Linked DNA regions of Homo sapiens: all the other regions are linked to region 4. The links are contacts of gene promoters, found by promoter capture Hi-C in blood cells and fetal thymus (Javierre and others, 2016). All regions are on one chromosome and are shown on one strand. The core of a region is centred on a gene start or on the middle of the fragment in contact, and the rest is flanking DNA. Distances in the headings are between cores, read along the strand shown.

Region 1 (4,942 bases), core at 382-2,881, 91 kb after region 4:
GTCACTTTATTATCAATGCTGCTTAATGAAGAAGGACTGGACATTAATTACTCCTGTGAAGATGGCCATTCTGCCTTGTATTCTGCTGCTAAGAATGGACATACAGGTAAATATGGCGAGATCTTATACCACACACTTGCAAAAGGATGGAAAGTCAAAAGCCCATGTATCAATTGTAATGAGCAGAAAGTTCAATTTAGTTTTATTTTTCTTTTACAGGTGGTAATGGATAGTTTTTTTAAACATGAGATTTAAAGTTTTTATAAACATTTAAAAAATCCAAATTGTACAGTTCATTAATGTAAAGTTTTACCAGAGCTAGTAAAAAGTAATCTTTGTTTTATGCAAAGATTAGTTTGCATTTATGGTCTGTTAGAAATACCTGATATATGAGAAAGTCTAATTATCAGAACTTTAGTGCTACATGCTACAGTGAGGGAAAGTTTTAGCAGTTAGGTAAGGTCATGGGCCTGAAATTGTTCCACAGTTGGAACAATTTATAGTTATTTGAATGTCTTAAAAGAACCGAGAAGTTGTGTAACTATAAATGGTATATCGATGAAGACTGGGAATTATTCTTGTTCTTTAAAATGCAAATCCTGTAGTCAAATATACCAAAACATATGGGAGTGCAGAAAAAGAGAGGACTTGACCGCAAATGCAAAGTCAGATAGCGTTGCATATGGAAGCCCATATGATTGTCGATTAATTCAGATAAATGGAGGATTCTAGTGACCTCAGAGATCCCGTTATTTTTAAAGTATTCTAGAATTCTTCATAATCACCATGGAGATTTTCTTTAATATAGAAGAAGTAAATCTAGTAAGTAACATCAGGAATGTGACATCTAGGTGATATTTATTCCTGAGTTAGGTGACTTTCGATGGGCTGTCCTTTAGCCTCATTCATGGAGTTAAGTGTAGGATGCCCACCATCCAAAAGCAGTTTAAAGATTAAATTAAACATCATAAAGTAATAATTTATTTAAGTACAAAGAATGGTATTTCCGTTTGGTAAATGAATTTGATTCTCCATCCAGGAACATTATTTTCTGGGATAGACTGTTGGAAAGATCTGGTAAAGCATTTTCTGGCACATGACATTTTTTTTTACTCAGCAGCAACTCTTCCCAAAATGCACACACGCATGGGCACATGCGCATGCACACACACACACGCATCTTAGTGAATCTGGGGTATTATAATCTTTGGGAAAATTGGCTGCTTTTCCTGTAAAATAGTCTACAGAGTCTCAGGTCTGCCATGATGGAATTCTGAGATGAACTGTGCAGGGGAGAGTCCCTTTGGGATTAGAATCTATCTACAGCTTGTATAGAATTTGGCACATCATAACTCCAAATGGGGAATTTACATGGCTTTCTATTAAAATCCATAGACTGTGTGAGATTGCTGCTGAGTGCAGAAGCCCAAGTCAATGCTGCTGATAAAAATGGCTTCACACCCTTGTGTGCTGCAGCTGCTCAGGGACATTTCGAGTAAGTTGCTCTTAATTCTTTTTTTCCCACCATCAAAGGAGCCTCTTTTTATAATTTGCACACGTATTTTAGTTCCGGCTGAATGTGTAAACTAGTGCTTAAAATCACTGGCAAATAAATTCACTAAATATATTTGAGGATTTAAATGCAAACTAGGATTCTAAATTTGCTCTTAATAATAGTTAATGTTTGAGGGAAGTGAAGAAGAGAACTGGGCTGTGTCCCAACTGAACGTGAATGAACTTTCTTTGGAAGATCATCTATGGCATATCAACACATATGTCATGAGATGAAGGACTGTTGAGAAGTTTGTTTTTCACTGTTTTACACCATTCCAACCCCCTAAAAGATTTTTTACTTATGATGTCACTAAAAGTAGAACATAGAATTATATTGGTTGTAATAATCTAAATTTCCTAGTGGTAATGTATTCTAATTATTCATCTTGTTTTACCATTTAAAACAAAATGGAAGCATGAATTTTACATACTGAAAGTAGTTTGGGCATTAAGCTAAAGAGACCCTATTAATTAAAATATACCTAACTTTAGCAATGATTTCTTTAGTAGCTTACTAAGTCAGTTAGATATAGGCATGACTTTTTAACATTAAAAGTCATATTTTAACTTAAAAAAATAGAAAATAGCTAAGTTGCTTTCTCTGCCTGTGCTGAAATGGCAGGTTGTGGGAAACGCAAGTTGCTTTTAACTTTTTAATCTAACTGTCCCGATAGGAATGTTCTTTAACAAATTCCAGAATTATTGAAATATGGGTTTTTAAGGTTGACCCCATGTTATTAATCATAAATATAATTTTTTAAAATTCAAAATGAATTATTTATGTAGAGCATGATTCACTTTTCTGCATATCTACCACATACCTCATTACCCTGAGTTTGTCATTGAGAACCCTAGACACTGATTTTGCTGTTACTCTTGGGACATATCCTGACTCCTTCAAAAGGAATTTCTCCTGAGCTGTGCTTTTTACCTTTACTTTCACCAGGCAACCTGTAGGGGCACTTTCTTGGACATATAGCAGTCACAGGAATGGAAGCATGGATAACTTTGCAAACAGGAAGGACCCTGGAGAAATCTGGGGATGGATTTTTTTCTTTCTTTCTTTTAGACGGAGTCTTGCTCTGTCGCCAGGCTGGAGTATAGTGGTGCAATCTCAGCTCACTGCAACCTCCGCCTCCTGGGTCTAAGCGATACCCCTGCCTCGGCCTCCCGAGTAGCTGGGACTACAGGTGTACGCCACCACACCCAGATAATTTTTTGTATTTTAGTAGAGACGGGTTTCACCGTGTTGGCCAGAATGGTCTGGATCTCCTGACTTCGTCATCTGTCCCCCTCAGCCTCCCAAAGTGCTGGGATTACATGTGTGAGCCACCGTGCCAGGCTGGATTTGTTAATTTAAATGTGTCTGATACACATGTATATCAACATGTCACTTAATTTAAAAAAAATGTATAAATCAGATACTGCAAGGGAAAATTAGGAAAAACATTCATTGGAGTGAAAATAAAAGATGAAGTGGATTGCTTCTTACTTTGATTATGATTTAGCCCTCTTTTCTAAGTTTATTCTCAACTAATTTTACAACTTAAGCTCTACATGTTTAGCTAGTAAATAAGTGTCACAAAGTCTTGACTTTACCTCATTTCTTTCCTCCTTGATTCTCAGGACAGTGAGTTTCTGCTTAGCTATCTTTTCCTCATCAACTAGCCTGACTTCAGGAGACAGGACAACCTCTGCTGTCTTTTCTCCCCAAGGCAACCCTTTTCTCAGCCTTTCTGCTGCCTTTTATAGAGAAGGCACATGGTGCCCTGCTGTCTATGCTATTTATAATTATTTTCTCAAGTGAAAATCTCAGAATGACTCAGCAGCCTTTTTTCAGTGTTCAAACTATTTCGAACCAAAATAATATATATTTATCAAGTACAGTTAAACCGTTCATCCCAGTAAGTTAAATTCTAAGGACTCTACTTTCACAAGTTGGTTATAGGGAAGTGTCATAAAGCAGGTATTAGCACTTTTCAAAATTTCCTGGGAGAAATTAAATTTTATGATTAGAATATATTTTCTAGCCTTGTGAAAAAAACAGTAGTCATGTAATAAGATCCATAATAATTGATATATGTAAATAGAAACAATTGATGTATATAAAGATGCAACATTGCTTTCTTTTCTGTATTTAATATCTTGGTTAGGTGGTGCTTCAAAGGTCAAACCCAGGTTTTATGTAATTAATCCTAATCTTGTGTTTAGGTGTGTAGAATTATTAATTTCATATGATGCTAACATTAATCATGCTGCTGATGGAGGACAGACACCTCTATACCTGGCCTGTAAAAATGGAAATAAAGAATGTATTAAACTCTTGTTGGAAGCTGGAACCAATCGAAGTGTAAAAACCACAGTGAGTAGCAGTCTGTTTTTTTCCCCCTGTATATATAATTTGCAATATATTTGTAAACTCTATAACTAGAAAAACAAAATAAATTAAAATAGAGGTTGCTTTATTTTGTTTTGCTTGTAGGATTTGGAAAGTGTCTGACCCTTGTTTGAATCTCTTTCCCGTTAATTAAATGTCTTGTTCATTAGCCTAGCCAGTCCTTTAACCTCTGAGCCTCAGATTAATCTGTCAAACAGGAAAACAAATACCTATGCTTTGATTATTTTTAGAACTAGGGCAGACAAGGGAGGTATAATTTTTTATTCATTCAACAAATAATAGTCTCAGATCCTGGATTTTCTTAAGTAAAGGAGGACCAGTGGTTAATAATATAAGCAGAGATGTGGCTGGGCGTGGTGGCTCACGCATGTAATCCCAGCACTTTGGGAGGCTGAGATGGGCGGATCACCTGAGGTCAGGAATTCAAGACCAGCCTGATCAACATGGAGAAACCCCGTCTCTACTGAAAATAGAAAATTAACCCAGCGTGGTGGTGCATGCCTGTAATCCCAGCTACTAGGGAGGCTGAGGCAGGAGAATCGCTTGAACCTGGGAGGCAGAGGTTGTGGTGAGCTGAGATGGCGCTGTTGCACTCCAGCCTGGGAGAAAAGAGCAAAACTCTGCCTCAAAAAATATATATACATATACATATGTATTTTATATATATATATATATGCAGAGATGTAATAAGCTAGATATAAACATTTTTAATGACTCATTGCTACAGCTTTTTTTCTTAAAAAAACTTCCTATTTTTTGAAAATCTGAGAAAACAGTTTTATATTTTTCATGTTATTTATATATATTACTTGAGAAATCTGTGGTGTTACACACATTCAGTATAAAATTCTATAGTGAAAAATGAATTAATTTTGTATCACAGGGCTGAATGAAAAATAAGTAGTACAGCATAAAAATTAGTCACATCCTAAGTTAGAGAACACAGAAATCCATTCTCTCCAACTAGTTGCTGATGAGCTGAACAAAACC
Region 2 (5,306 bases), core at 339-2,838, 110 kb after region 4:
CTGAAATACATTAAAAAAGTGTTGAGTGAAGAAGTCAGTTATAGAAGGACACATAATATAAAACCATCTGTGTAAAAGTTTAAAAATACAACTCCAAGCCTATATTTGTTATAAGTACCACTAAATAAGGCAAAGTGTAAAAATATGCATAGGGGAGGTAAGAGCTTCCCTATGGAAGATTTAAGTGAAAATTGAAAGGCTGAGCCAAGAAAGAGTGGAAAATAGAGCCATTCCAGGTGAACTAGCAGCATATCTGGAGGCACTGAAGGGGATGTGCTTTGGAGTCTTTAGAGGTATTTAGCTGTATCTGCAGTGCTGGGGAGAGGAGGGAGATGAGTATGGGAAGTCTAGAGTCAGGTCATAAAAGGCCTTGTATTCCTTTTGACTCAATCTTCCATGTAAGTTTTGATGCAATCCTGTGGACATGAATGAACAATTGAACGATTGTAAGTGAGGAAGTAAGATGTAGGTAATGGGGAAATAATTGTCTTGATCTTGATACACAGGATACCATAGATGGGGAGCATGACTGGTACCTAGTAAGAGGGAAGGAGGGCTGAACAAGCCAGGGAGTCACAGGGCTGGAGAACAGGGTCATGGTTCAAGTCATAGGGGTGCTATGAGACAGGAATGATATACAGGGTGAGGGGAAAAGCAAACTGAAGGCCAAGCCCAGAGAAACCCCCATTTTTAGGGCAGAAAATATTTTTTAAAAATGACCCTAAAAGAAGATTGGGAAATAGGAAGGAAAAGAGCCAAAAAATAATGTTGTATGGTCAGGCATAGTGGCTCATGCCTGTAATCCCAGCATTTGAGGAGGCTGAGGCAGGAGGATTGCTTGAGCCCAGGAGTTCAAGACCAGTCTGGGCAACATGGCAAAACTCCATCTCTTCAAAAAATAAAAATAAATTGCCAGGCATGGTGACACGTGCCTGTAGTCCCAACTGTTGTCTGCTCCATGGGTGCTGAGGTGAGAGGATTACCTGAGCCAGGGAGGTCAAGGCTGCAGTGAGTCAAGGTGGCACCACTGCCCTCCAGCCTGGGTGACAGAGAAAGACCCTGTCTCAAAAAAAAAAAAAAAAAAAAAAAGAAGAAGAAGAAAAAGAAAACAATGGTGTAATTGGATTCAAGTTAGGAGACCTTTCCAACAGGAAGAATTAATTTAATAGTATCACATTCCCTAGACTATAAGGATTAAAAAGAGTCGATTGCATTTGGCAAATAGAAGTTACCGCTAACAGGGAGACAAGTTTTGTGCAGTTACATAGAAGCTGATTATTTTAAGCTGAGAATAATATGGAAAGACAGTGGAAAAAATCTCTGGTAGAATAGTTTTCTTCATCCATTGAATAAACACCTTTTTATTAATTCATTGAACATATGCTTATTGAGCTGCTCTTGTGCCAGTCACTATCTTAGCCACTTGATGTAAGTCAGAAAATTTTTAAGAAGATTGTTCTCATCCTGAAGCTTATAGTCTAACATTAAGAGATAAAATGAACAATAAATATAAGAAAAATTTATTTTTTGGCATTGTGAGGTGGTGAGATATGCTATGGAAAAGACTAAGGGGGATGAGGATTTAAAGGGTGTGTTTCAGCTTTTAAAATGGTGGCCAAGTTTGCCTCACTGATGAGACATTGAAGCCAAGGCTTGAAGGAGGTGAACAGGGCAGCTATGTGGATATCTAAGGTTCAAGAAGCTTTAGCACGAGTTGGACAGAGGCCTGAGGTAGCAGCATTCCTGTTGTGTCTGAGGAACTGCAAGGAGGGCAGGATGACTGGGTTAAAAGGAAAGAGAAGCAGGAAGACGGGTCAGAGCAGTAGCCATTTCAGTGTTTGAGTGCAGGAGAGCAGTTACAGGGTGGAGCGTGGCCTGATCTTGTTGGAATGCGTAGGCCATTGTAAGAACTTAAGGTAGCCATTGCAGTGTTCGATTGTAGGAGAGATGGGATCTGATGCACATTTTAACAGTAGCACTGGCTGCTTTGTTGAGAATCAGCTATAGGAAGTCACAGATAAATCAGGAACAGCTGTTAGTACATGCATATGGTATTCCAGGTGAGAGACAATTATGGTGGCTCAGTGTAGGAATGCAGCAGATGAGGTAATGAGAAGGACTTGGGTTCTGGATACAGTTGAAGGTAGAGTCAACAGAACTTCCTCATGGATTGAATGTGAAGTGTGAGGGAGTATAATTCAAGGTGTTCAGTCTGATAATTCAAGGTGTTCAGTCTGACCAACTGGCACGATGGAGTTGCCAGTACTTGTTAGGGGGAAAGGCCATGAGTGAAACAGATTTTCTCATGTAGTTGGGGAGTTCAGATTTGGATGCAGGAATTTGAGATGTCTCTTAGGATATCTGTGTGGAGATGTCAAGTCAGCAGGAATTCCTGAGACGAGTGAGAGCTGGGTGAATAAATGTGAAGGTCAGCAGTCTATCAGTGATATTTAAAGTCATGGGACTGGATGAGATCACTAAGGGAATGAACATGCACAAAATAAATAGAGAAAGGAGCCCCAAAACACACTATCATTAAGAAGTCTGGAAAAGGTGGAGAGAACAACAAAGGAACAACATTAAAGAGCGACCGAGGAGGTACAGGAGATCCAGGAGGAGTATATCAAGGAGCAAAGAGAGATCACTTTTGTCAGATACTGTGGATAAGTAAGATGACTGAGAGTCAGAAAATGGAAAATAAGTAATCCAGCAGTTGGTTACTTAATGGAAAAATCTAAGTTTAAGAAGAGGATCATATAAACAAACACATGTTGTTTTAAAACATTTTAATTTTAAAGCATACAAAGGAATTTTTTACCAAAGTTTAGATAGAGGTCTTTAGTACAGGTTCTACTGATTAAAATTTCACATACTCTTGTTTGAAAAAAACATACCTTTGATGCATCATCTATGATTTCTAATGTTTGACTGCTTAAACACATTTATGAAGCAAACTAAAGGTAATACCTGTCCAGAGATTATTAAACCATTTCTAATTTCATATAGTTGTCCCATTTATACCTCATTAGATAAAATTTTTTAACAGTTCCTAAACTGTCTCTAAAGGATTCAACTTAGTTTTCATAGGAACAGTAACTCATATTTCATCAATTTATGGAATACTTAATTCAATAATTATAGTCATCAGTTCAATGAACATAGAATATTTGGAAACAAACACAAGTAACTCAGCATACAATTCAGTCATGAGAACAGAAGTAGATGGGGGTGCTACCCACTCTGCTGGAGCCTCAGTCGGAGAAATTGGAAAGAACATTTCAAAAGTTAAATCCTGCTACCCTGTTAACCATTTATCAAATACTTACTGGTATTTACCACATAAGAATATGTAAAATCTATTACAAAAGTAAGTTCATTTATTTTTCACACCAACTCGATATACATTCCCTCCATTTTATGGAAGAAATTGGGGTACAGAGAGATCAATTTACAAGAACACGCATCTATAGGAGGCTGACCCTGACTCTGCGGTTCAACCCAAGGTCTATATGATTCTCAGTTACTATCCTAAGCATCCCGACCTGTCCAACTATAACCTGCCTCATCCATGACATTATCTATGAAGGAAAGGAGAATATAGAGAATTCAGGGTCAAGGGAGGGTTATAGTTCTTTCAGATTTTTTTTTTTAAAACTTGACAATCTTGCTGATGGGAAAGAGTTAATGAAATAGAAAAAGCCAAAGATACAAGGAAAGAGACAGTTCGTGCAGCGTGCTTCCAAAGAAACTGAAGAGATTGGGAGACAAAAGTTTACTCCAGTGTAAGAACGTTCAATGTAATGTTATTTAATGAAATAAAATAGCTTTGGTTTATAATTTTTAAATGTTTATATCTGCTTATTTTATGTAATAGTTTTACTTTTTTTTTCTGTCCAGATTTTTTTAACTCCTAATTCTTTTACTCTTCTAACAGATGCTCTTAAAATACCCTTAAGGATTTCAGTGGGTGAGATTGAACCAAGCAACTATGGTTCTGATGACTTGGAATGTGAAAACACAATATGTGCTTTAAATATCCGCAAACAGACATCATGGGATGATTTTTCAAAAGCAGTGAGTCAAGCTCTGACAAATCATTTCCAGGCAATCTCTTCTGATGGATGGTGGAGTCTGGAAGACGTGACTTGCAATAACACCACTGATTCCAACATCGGCCTCAGTGCAAGAAGCATACGATCCATCACGCTAGGTATCAGCAGTCCTATGACGGAGAGAAAGTGAAATTTCTGGGTTTATTTATGTTTGTGGGTTTCATAACCTGATTCTTAGTTCATTGATTAAGCACATTCAAAGCTTACTTGTGGCAGCTGCCGGTGCTGAAAAACTTGAGTATTCACAATGTAGCCATTATGTAATGTTGCCTGTTAATATAAAAATGCTTTTATGCCCCAAATAATACTCAGAGAGTAAAAAACATGAAAGCCGTTGATGAGGCTTTGTGATTGCACTTGCTATTCTAGATAAATGCAAGAAACTAAACACCCCACAGCTGCTTGCTTTTGCGCAAGTACTGAACACAGCTCAAAATTTGTTCTTGGGTTGGGCCAGGAGCACTGTAGTGCATTAGTACCTTATCTCCAGGACAGATTTTCTGATGAAGTCTAGACTTGAAAGAAGCACTTTAATAAAGATATATTCAATGCTCCCACATGGGATGAATCAGGGTGGTAATTGGTTATTTCAATTTGATAGACAGCACAAAACAGATTCCAAGGAACTTACGAGATTTGCTTTCTGCTGAGCATAGTAAGTTCTCTGTAAATATTAGGTGTCCCTGATTAGTTCCTTTCTTCTTGGTCCAGGAGAACTACCTTCTATGGGAAATCTGCCCCTTTGCAAGGACTGTATTGGGTGCTTATAAAAGGTCCTTTCAGTGGTGTCATTTTACAGATAACTCCGTACAAGATGACTTGCTTGAGAGCACAGAACTAGTGAGCAAAGCAGACAGGATTCAAATCATATTCTGTCTGATAGAAAAGCTTGTGTACTTTCAACAGCACCGTATTGGAAAAGAAAGGTCCAAGGTTGAGGGAAAAGTGGGCTTTTTACCATTGCTATTTATCTGTCAGATTGTTACATCAGAAAGTGTTTTATTCTGTTTACCCATATATGTTTATTCACTTTCAAAACATGTTACTAGTTTTTAGAGAAGAGTATTCATGACAACTTGATTTTATGGATCTTTGGCATGATCATTAAAATTACTATTATTGGCTGTGCATGGTGGCTTATACCTATAATCCAAGTGCTTTGGGAGGATGAGGCAGAAGGATCACTTGAGCCCA
Region 3 (5,372 bases), core at 1,201-3,700, 130 kb after region 4:
GGGGGCCAGCAGATTCAGTGTCTGGTTAGGGCCTGTTTCCTAGTTCATAGATGGCACCTTTTCATTCAATCCTCAAGTGGTGGAAGGGGCAAGGGGTTCCCCTTAGCCTCATTTGTAAGGGCACTAATCCCTCCTAACAACCCCAACTTCTAATACAATCACCTTGGGGGTTAGAATTTCAACATATGAATTGGAGCCAGGGGAAGCAACACAAACATTTTGACCACAGCAACTAGGAAAAACAGAAAAAGTTTGGAAAATTATGTTGTCTACAGGATGCAAGGTGGTAGACTATGAAAGCAGGGCAAGAAAGTCATAGTAGAGTCTGGGCTTAGATTACAAGGAAAAGTGTTAGAAAGGAGATGGATGAGGTAAGGAACTATAAGAACAATTGAAAATGCAATGGCATAAAGTTGCACTTGACTATAGAGAACAGAAGTGAGATCGTGAATATTTTGCGTGTTGTGCAAGACTAACTTGAGCTCTCTCAATGCAAAAGAAGACAGAGCTATAATGATGAGATAAGATGACAGATACTCGCAGAAAAAAGAGAACTTAAGCATTATAGGTGTTCATTATAGTTAAAGAGAACTAGAAGAGGAGAAATTACCAAAAAATTGGAGAAAAATGTCCTAATCCAAAAAAATTATGACTATGCATATCAAAAGGACTTACCATGTTCCATTTAAGATTAGGAGAAAGAGGCTATAACTAGACATATCTGGGCAGCATTTTTTAATGAAAAGTACAATCTGTACGTCACCCAGGCTTCCCCATCTCATAAGTATAAATGAAAACGTATTACTTTTCAATAATTATTATTTAATAATAATGTATCCCTGCAGACTTGTGGCCCCATTGCCTTACTGCTTAGAGGCAGAACCTCAGCAGCACTTTCTAGGGTAGTCTTTCCTGTGTCTCTGGGGAAGTTCTTGCTCCAGGTTTGGTCCTTGCCTGCACCTCCACCGTAAGCCTTTTATTGAAGGTGTACTAATAATTGAACAGTATTCCAACTCAGAGAATATTACGGGAGGCTACCAGACATGATATCTTTCAGAGCCTAAAACCCAGTCCCAAGCCCAACATCAAGGAGCCCCTTAAAGGACCACTGCCCTCTTAGCTCATGGTCTGAATCCTGGTGGTCATGCCTGGCTTTCCTCCACTTCCCAGAAGTGCTCACCAACCTTCCTTAGTCTCCTTAGAGGCCAAACCTCATGTCTTTTTTCTTTTTAACCTTGAGACAGGGTTTCGCTCTGTTGCCCAGGATGGGGTGCAGTGGCATGATCTTGGCTCACTGCAACCTCCACCTCCCGGGTTCAAGCGATTCTCCTGCCTCAACCTCCCAAGTAACTGGTATTACAGGCACCCACCACCACACCTGGCTAATTTTTGTATTTTTAGTGGAGATGGGGTTTCACCGTATTTGCCAGTCTAGTCTTGAACGCCTGACCTCAAGTGATCCGCCCACCTTGGCCTCCCAAAGTGCTGGGATTAAAGGCGTGAGCCACCACGTGCGGCCCAAAGCTCAAGTCTTAAAGGCCTAGGGTAAGGAAAAAGTTTAGTTCATCTCTTATGCTAAGAGCTTTTCTTCAAGCCTTCCTTTTATATCCCACAATCTGCCTCCTTGTAATGATGGACTGGGGCATTTTTACTATCTTCACAGAAGTCCATCCCAGCTACCATAAAGGATGGGCCTTTTCCTGTGATCTCAAAGGGACAACCTCATCAGAGTACAAGAGAGAGACAACACAGAGATACACACACACATTCTTACATTGTCCTGTTCTAGATTATAGAGAGAACAAACTCAAAACTTCTCTAAGTCTGGGTGGCTCAATCTTCACTTGAGCAATATCAACTGTATCAGTTAGGTTGGACCCTCACCTGTCCAAGTCCTTTCCGGCAAGACCTTGCTGCAAGACCAGCTTTCCATTAAGAAAGCTTCTCCCAAGCATGTGTGCTGGGCAGGGTGCAGGGGTGTCAGCCCTGGGATGACAGAAGTGGGAGGCTAACTTTCCTCTCCATATTTTTCTCAAGACATCGCTGCCTTTGCCCTGTGTAGATGATAATTGCCTTTCCATCCAAGTGCATGCTGAAACTCCATGTTCTCAGGCGAGGTATCCTTATACACGAGGATAAAGTTTAAAAAATATATATAAGCATACAGGCAGGAGATTTTCTTTTTGACAAAGCGAAAGTAATCCATCTCTACCTAGATTTCTTTAAAACACTGAATTCCAGAATGGAATAATATATAAAGTTGATCTGAGTTTTATACTCATCAAAACATCTTTTACCTAAGAAGTCAACACAAAGACATTATCTGATATACAACAGCTGTAAAAAGATGACACTCATGTACCCATCTTTTAAACATACACACACACACGCAGCCACTATGCAAAGAAAAAACTGGAAGGAAACAAAAATATTTACGGTGACTGTGGGTGCTGACACTCAGTAATTTTTTATTCTTCTTTATATATACCAAAATTTCCATAATGAAATGCATTACTGTTTTAACCACGAACAAGCTAAATAAGCATTGACAAAATTCCACATAAAGAGCATCTGCAAAGGATAATATAGAAAAAGTTACAGAATTTCTGGAAGGGACAAAATGAACTTGGAACTGTGTGTCTCAGCTACCCTGCAGACCCTCGCTATGGAAAATAGAGGGAAAAAATGTGTTTTTTTATAAAGTATCAGCTCTTGCTAAGTACCCTTTGCCCATGTTTCACATTCAAATGAGAGTACAGGTGTCCAATGATAAAGCTAATCTCTAAAATATTGTTTTTAATCTTTTGAAAGTATGAGGACAATCAAAAAAGAATTCCACACCTGTGTACCACTTTTTTCTCTCATCAATTTAGCATCTTCACCCTAGCTCTCTACTTGGTTTGTTAATAGGTTGAGCAATATCATAATGTCATTTTCCACGGCCCAGAAGGAAGCTTGCAAGACTACATAGTACATCAGCTTGCACTCTGCCTGAAGGTATTGATTACTTGTATATCAGCTGCTTTTCTTTGAAAATTGGCAAGTGCGTAGAACTAATCACCCTATTTTCTTATCACAGCACAGACAAATGGCTGCAGGATTCTCCTGTGAAATAGTGAGAGCTGAAGTAGATGCTGGTTTTTCCAAGGAACAGCTACTAGACCTGTTCATTAGTAGCGGTAAGAACATTTCAGCAAATTGCCTGTGATAACCTAAAGGCATGCTCTTCAATTATGCCATTAAGAGAAAATACACTGTGTTGCTTGGGGATACATTTAAGATAACTTTAATTATTCAGCAGCTGTGGGATAAACACTTGCAAAAATTATCTTCATGTGTATATTATTGCATTTGTTGAGCATCCTGCATTTTTTTCTTCTTTTTGTTATTAATCATTAATTGTTGCTAGCATACTGTCTTACTGGCACTAGTGGTATACCAAGGGAGGAGGTGGTAGGAGCAGTTCACCCTAGCTGGACTAGGTATTGCATCTTTGATGCTGTTTAGAACTGCTGGAGCATGGTGGTGATACACAGCAGATCAACTTTTTAGTAAATTTTATTACTCATAAATTCTCTACAACCAATACATCCCTTAGTGCTGCACCTGGGGCCAACCACTTTCTCTACCTCACTCTTGCTATGCCATTGACTGGCACTTAGTGAAATACATCACATGCACTAATTAACTCATTCAGTCTCCACAACAGCCCTATGCAAGTGTAGGTATCATTATTTCTACTTTCAAAGGTGGGGAAAGGGTCACAGAGAGGTCCAGTAATTTGCCACAGCTATGGTAGTAGCAGCACCGGGATTAAATATGTTTATTAATGTAATGTTATTAATGAGTTTTCGATCTTAGATTCCAGGGTCTAATACCCCACGTTTCATCACAGGTGGAATTAGCATAACCCTGCATTGCATACTGTAGAATAGCATAACTAGTGACTCTGACACAAAACTGAAATGGACCAGACTTTAGTCTCCTAGGGCTGAAAGCCACAGAGACCCCTGGGGAAGGGGCGAAGGAAGCAGTTGTAAGATTGGAGAAGGATAGGTTGAAATGCAAATTCAAAATCTCTTTGTTGGGGAGGGGTGCTTCTATATCTTGTGGCCAGGGCAAATGTAGACCAGGCTTAGGAAGATAGAACAGTGGCATGATCTCAGCTCACTGCAGCCTCGATTTCTGGGGCACAAGCTAACCTTCCACCTCAGCCTCCTGAGTAGGTAGGACTACAGGCACGCCCCAGCACTTCCAGCTAATTTGTGTGTGTGTGTGTGTATTTTTTGTAGACAAAGAGTTTGCCATGTTGCTCAGGCTGGTCTTGAACTCCTGAGCTCAAACAATCTGCCTGCCTTGGGTCTCCCAAAGTGCTGGGATTACAAGCGTGAGCCACCGTGCCTAGCCAGCACTTTCTAAGTCAACAGATGAATAGATAAAGAAAATATGGTACATATACACGATGGAGCGCTATTCGACCATAAAAAAAAGAATGAGATCCTGTCATTTGCAACAACACGGATGGAACTAGAGATCATTATGTTGCATGAAATAAGCCAGGCACAGAAAGACAAACATCACAGGTTCTTAATTGTTTGAGGGATCTAAAAATCAAAGCAATTGAATTCATGGAGATAGAGAGTAGAAGGATGGTTACCAGAGGCAGAGAAGGGTAGTGTTGGGTGTTGGGGAGTAGGTGGGGGTGGTTAATGGGTTCTGAAAAAATAGAAAGAATGAATGAGACCTACTGTTTGATAGTGACTATAGTCAGTAATAATTGTACCTATAGTCAGTAATAACTTAATTGTACATTGTAAAATAACTAGAAGGAGGTAATTGGATTGTTTGTAACACAAAGGATAAATGCTTGAGGGGATAAATATACCCCATTCTTTATGATGTGATTATTTCACATCACAAGCCTGTATCAAAACACCTCATAGACACACAAATACATACACCTACTATGTAGCCACAATTTTTTTTTAAAAAAGAAATGAAATTAAGAGGCAGGTTTAGGGAAGCACTGAGGATACCACAAACCTAGAAGCACATTTTAGGGGCAGGAAAATTCCAGTAGAATCTGAATATCACTGTACTACACAGGCCAGTCTTGGGCTAGAAATTAGTGAAAGTTAGCTACAGAAAGCTGTTTTTTCTGATAATGTTACTAATTGTAGCTAACATTTTGTAAGCTCTTACACTGGTGGCCCTATTCTTTTTTTTTTTTTTTTTTTTTTTTTTTTTTGAGACAGAGTCTCACTCTGTCACCAGGGCTGGAGTGTGGTGGCACGATCTCGGCTCACTGCAACCTCTGCCTCGCTGGTTCAAGTGGTTCTCCTGCCTCAGCCTCCCGAGTAGCTGGGGCTACA
Region 4 (4,663 bases), core at 1,471-3,970:
TTGCAATATATTCAGTATTACTCCTTCCATTTTAATGCCAAAAGGAATTTACTGATTAAGACTCATGATTCATTTTTGTTGTAGGGATTTATTTTCCTCCTGTTTATACTTCTATCTTTCTCCTTTTTTACCCTGCCTTTCAGTAATTTTCACTGTAACCCTGGGATATCTTTTATTTTTATTATTAATTATTATTATTATTTAGCTGTTTAATGAGGCTTCAAAAGATTTAATTTCTGGAGCCATCAAGTCAATACCCTTTCACATCTATTTGCTTTGACTGTAATAGAGCCTGCCTTTGTGCAAAGAAAGTCTTAGAAAGAGTTAATTTGCAATAGTAGCAGAGACTAATTCTCAAGAGAGAATTGAAACCAGCAAGTGTCCTCCTGGTGGAGAAGCAGCCCCAGGCCAGGCTACTAGTGAGGAAGTTAACTCCTAGTGTGCCACTTCTGTGCAGTAGGTGAGATCCTCAGCCAACCTTCAACAGTGCTGGTTTTAAGGTGGAAACAGAATGCTGTCAATTCTCCTTCCCAGGTACTGGATTTTGGTGGTTAGAGAATGTGGTGTCCTGTGATTTTTATCACTGTTTTATTTATTTTTTTTCCATTTCACAAAAACAAACAAAAAATGATGGGTGGGGGTTTGCGGTGGGGGGGGGGGGTGGGCAAGGACTGATTTCCTTGTAACATGATCCTGCTTTAATTGTATTTAGGTGAATACAAGCTAATTTTTTCCCAGTGATTTTTTTTTAAAAATTGGGCTGCATGTATAAAAGGGATTTGCTTCCCAGAGATGGTGTCATTTCATATTTCTAACTCTTAACCCTGAGTAAAACTTATTATTATTATTTTTTCCAGAAGTTTGCCAGTTAATTGCTTGAGAAGTATTCAACATCAGAATCAAGAAAATTGATTGCCTTGCAATGTGTGGAAGTGCATTTTGAAAAGAACAAGGAATGCCCTTGGACTTTAAATTTTTACTATCAGTTTGACATCTAACTTTTACTGTCCAGTGGTTTTCTTTAATCTTAAAGAAATCTAGTTATTCTAATATTGAGCAGTTTTAGAGAGTATACTTAATAAAGGAAAGTGGTATAATGAACAGGGATGGATATTAAAGGGATAAGTGAGGGAGTAACTATCAGAGCCAATATAAATAAATAAATAAATAAATAAATAAGTACCTGTACTCACAGGATAACCTGGAGATGATTTCTAAGCCTCTGACTTTTAGCCCCAGAGTTCTAGGTAAAGTTCTTTCTTGACCTCTCTTCTGGGAGGGAACTTTTCACAGTTTATTAATCAATCCCTTTCAGGGTCTTTGCAGAAAAGATTTTCTCTGCCCTGGTTTGTGTCATATTTGGGTCTAATTTGGAAAGTGGAGCAATTAAAGAGTCAAAACCTTTCATTAGGAGCCTGCCATTAAAAAAAGAAGAAAGAAAGAAAGAAAGAAAAAAGGAAAAAAAAAAAAAAAGCTTTGATCTGTAACCCTTGGACTGAACATTCTAGTCATTCATCTTCCAAAATTTCAAGTGCAAGATTTGGTTGTGGTTTGATTTTACGTCTTTGAGACACAGCTTGAATGTCTCAATTTGATTTTATGCATTCGACACATTTTTAGGGATCTGGTGATTTGGGAAGGGCTGTACCATATGGTCTTGGTGAGGTGATAGATTTTCACATTCTGGAAATTGGCAGCAAAGGGTAGGAACTGAATTAGATGTGGAAAGGGAAGATTAAGCGTTTGGGCCTAATTCACTCATCTCATGAAAAATCTTCTGAGACGTGTAATTCCCATAAAATCTATTTTTACAAATACGGCTTTTGTTTGATTGTTTTTGGTGTATATGTACACGTGTCCTCACACGTAGGGAGTAATTTTTTTAAATTCTCTCAAAAGTAGAGGACATGACATTTAGCTTTTAAAGCTATGACATTTAACACTTCTCAGTTAGTCCTTCAGGAGAGATCTCAGACTTAGGGGGGTCACAGAATATAAAACAGCCCGCTACACATTCCCTGAAAAGGAGATTGTATAGAAAGTTAGGAGCTGAGGGGCTGGTGCCACGTTCTAAAAGAAAACAGGACAGACAAATCGTTTTCATCTGAGAATTGTTTTTGGAGAAACACTAGAGTCAACGATAGAATAAATCAGAGCCAGGTGTGTATATATATAGGGAGGATAAAAACACCCTGGCGGCAATGAAATTTAAGAAAGAGCAATTTAAGAAGAAAGGGGTGCCCTGTGTGATTCCTCGCGGTGGGATAGAGGGAGCTGAAGTGTAGGATTTTCCCTGATCTTTCAGAGAATTCAGATTCAGGAGGCCTGACATTTAATCTGGTCTGTGCACGGATTTCTCCGGCTTGGTTGGGGTTCTGCGGAATGCAACGCTCCTCGGGCGCTTTCTGCCTTCACCTCTTCCGTGGTCTTTGATCCCCAGTCCCCGCGCAGGGCCGCAGCGGAGCCAGGTCGTGCGCCCATTTCTCGCACCTCCACGAGCCCGCGGCTGGCGCCACCGGGCGCGGGACGCGGGGCGCGGGGCGGGACCGAGGCGGGGCGCTCCGGCGCGCAGCGGGTTAAGCGGCGAGGGCGGTGGCGAGGGGCGGAGGGAGTGCCGCGGCTCCCGGCTCCCGGCTCCAGGCGCCCGCGTCCCGGACAGCAGCGGGTTAAGTGCCGCCCGCGCGGAGACGGCTGAGTCCGGAGCCGCGGCTCCGAGCTCGCATTCGGATCCGCTAGAGCAGGAAGATGGCGACGGACGGCGCGAGCTGCGAGCCCGACTTGTCCCGGGCCCCGGAGGACGCGGCGGGGGCCGCGGCGGAGGCGGCGGTAACCGAGTTCCCGGGGCGGGCGCGGGGCTAGTGTAGACGCGGGCCGGGGGCGGCGCCGGGGTCCCAGCCGGACCCGACTTCGCACCCCCGGGGCGTTCCGTAAGCCCGGGACTCTCCGGTGCCCCTTCATCGGGGCCCCCCTTCCTCGGGATGCCCACACGGCGGAGGCCGCGGGGGGGAGCGGAGCGGCCACCCTGGCTGGGGATCCCTCCTGTCCCTTCCGCGCCCCACGGGAAGCGGCCCCGGGTCGCCCGGTTCTCCCAGCTCCCTGTCTGCGTCCAGTGCGACCCCTATGCCCACTCCCTCCGCTGCGGTCGCTTCTGGCCGGGGGAGAAGGCTGGGACGTGTTTCCTGGCGAATTTGACCCCCCATTGTTCACCTCTCGCTGCGCGCGTGGTTGCCAGCGCGTGTCTCGGGGGTGCCTGGTACCGCTCAGCGGACCCGGGAGAGCAGCTTGGGGGAGGTGGGCCATCGCCCAGCAGGTGTGGGGATGCCCATTGTGTGCATCTGGTCCTGTGCCTTCGGGAGGCCCACTGGGAGAGGGCCGTGTCCAGATGTGGGCGCTGCTGCCGCTGAGGCCAGCGCTTTAGGTCCTAGCAGCCTGCTGCCCCATTACTTGGTGGTAGTGATTGGGGTGGGGTGGATGGATTGGTTCTTCCCGAGACGATGCTCAGGAGAGGTGGAGGTTCTGCACCTGGTTTCAAGACATTGTTCTCCTTCTCTGGAGTCTAGAGGCCGAATGCGCTACCATTCTTGACTGGTCCTTACTTTCACCCCCTTAATATTCCGGTGTAGAGACTCGCTGGTGGTTTCCAGCCTCTACTTTGGGGAAGGGCTGGACCCACATTTCCTGGGTGGAAAAGGTTCTCGGTGTTTGGGAAGCAGCTTCGCAGGAGCTGCAAGGAGCTGCAGAGAAAGGCAGATCTGGGAGCGCCTCCCACTCTTGGCCAGATCTGGCTGCTCCCGCCGAAGGATGGGGTGGGATGGAGCGAGCGGGGCGTGGACGCCCCCCTCTTCCTATCAAGACCTGAGCAGAATCAGTGCAGGAGAGGGCAGGGCCGGGCGTAAACAGCGGGGGCCGCTTTAACTTCCTCCCACCCTCTGGAGGTAGGGCTTTCTGGAGAGGGAGAGGAGAGATGTGGAGGAAGGTACTTGGGGTGAGAGGAGCTGAGCCTGGCAATGGAAGGAGAAACGGGGAGGAGGACTGCTAATTTCCACTTGTAAAACTGGCAAGTTTTGATTTGAACTTTTGGGAAAATTGAGTTTCCATTCTTTGCATAGAAAATGAGAACTTTAAGATTTCAAACGAAACCTGCCCACTTATGTGAATCAGCTCCCCTCTGTGGGGCACAGTAAGGAAACTAGCTATTGAGACAAGGCTCTCTGGCAAGTGGAAATGATTTGGTGCCTTCATCCCCAAAAGGTGGGAAGGGGAAGGACGAGGAAAAAGAAAGAGGGTGTGTGTGTGTGTGTGTGTGTGTGTGTGTGAAGGGGAAGGACGAAAAAGAAAGAGGGTGTGTGTGTGTGTGTGTGTGTGTGGTGTGTTTCTTGTTCCCCAGAAAGGTTGAATTTGTTTACTTAATCCACTCAGAATGGGTTTCTGTTACCCTCAATATTTTAATCACCTGACAATTAACCCAAACACAAACATCTGACTGATGGTCTGTAGAGCTGATATATAGTTTTGTTTGGTTAGATCGTAAACAAAACCCAGGACGCCAGGCAGATTTCTGTGTTAACAAGGTCAGTGTTCCCTCTCTTCTGTTTAAAATGTTCAAGTCTGATTTTCACTGCTGATAGTTGGGGATTTGATAATTTCACCCTTGTTAATGGGC

The links. Contacts are between HindIII fragments. The CHiCAGO score rates a contact against its expected background, and 5 or more counts as called.
Region 1: a fragment that was not itself captured here is called in contact with the fragment with the promoter of CTTNBP2 in region 4 in 1 of 17 cell types (megakaryocytes); the score reaches 5.4 in megakaryocytes.
Region 2: a contact is called between a fragment that was not itself captured here and the fragment with the promoter of CTTNBP2 in region 4, in 1 of 17 cell types (megakaryocytes). The highest score is 5.1, in megakaryocytes.
Region 3: a contact is called between a fragment that was not itself captured here and the fragment with the promoter of CTTNBP2 in region 4, in 2 of 17 cell types (megakaryocytes and erythroblasts). The highest score is 9.6, in megakaryocytes.

What each region holds. Positions count from the first base shown.
Region 1 is chr7:117,779,415-117,784,356 of GRCh38, reverse strand. It overlaps CTTNBP2 (cortactin binding protein 2), which reads left to right. Exons shown (of 23, transcript NM_033427.3): 5 at 1-106; 6 at 1,396-1,495; 7 at 3,766-3,916. Among named protein-coding and RNA genes, the nearest start is that of CTTNBP2, 92 kb to the left of the region's middle. RefSeq lists silencers at 623-1,138, 3,250-3,519 and a cis regulatory region at 3,250-3,303. The HindIII fragment of the contact is 8,715 bases long and covers 1-4,942 here.
Region 2 is chr7:117,759,339-117,764,644 of GRCh38, reverse strand. It overlaps CTTNBP2 (cortactin binding protein 2), which reads left to right. Exons shown (of 23, transcript NM_033427.3): 10 at 3,935-4,210. Among named protein-coding and RNA genes, the nearest start is that of CTTNBP2, 110 kb to the left of the region's middle. The HindIII fragment of the contact is 232 bases long and covers 1,473-1,704 here.
Region 3 is chr7:117,743,638-117,749,009 of GRCh38, reverse strand. CTTNBP2 (cortactin binding protein 2) reads left to right here. Exons shown (of 23, transcript NM_033427.3): 13 at 2,911-2,997; 14 at 3,080-3,179. Among named protein-coding and RNA genes, the nearest start is that of CFTR-AS2, 99 kb to the right of the region's middle. The HindIII fragment of the contact is 1,013 bases long and covers 1,944-2,956 here.
Region 4 is chr7:117,871,498-117,876,160 of GRCh38, reverse strand. It overlaps CTTNBP2 (cortactin binding protein 2), which reads left to right and starts at 2,720. Exons shown (of 23, transcript NM_033427.3): 1 at 2,720-2,826. The coding sequence starts at 2,746. The HindIII fragment of the contact is 3,697 bases long and covers 1,477-4,663 here.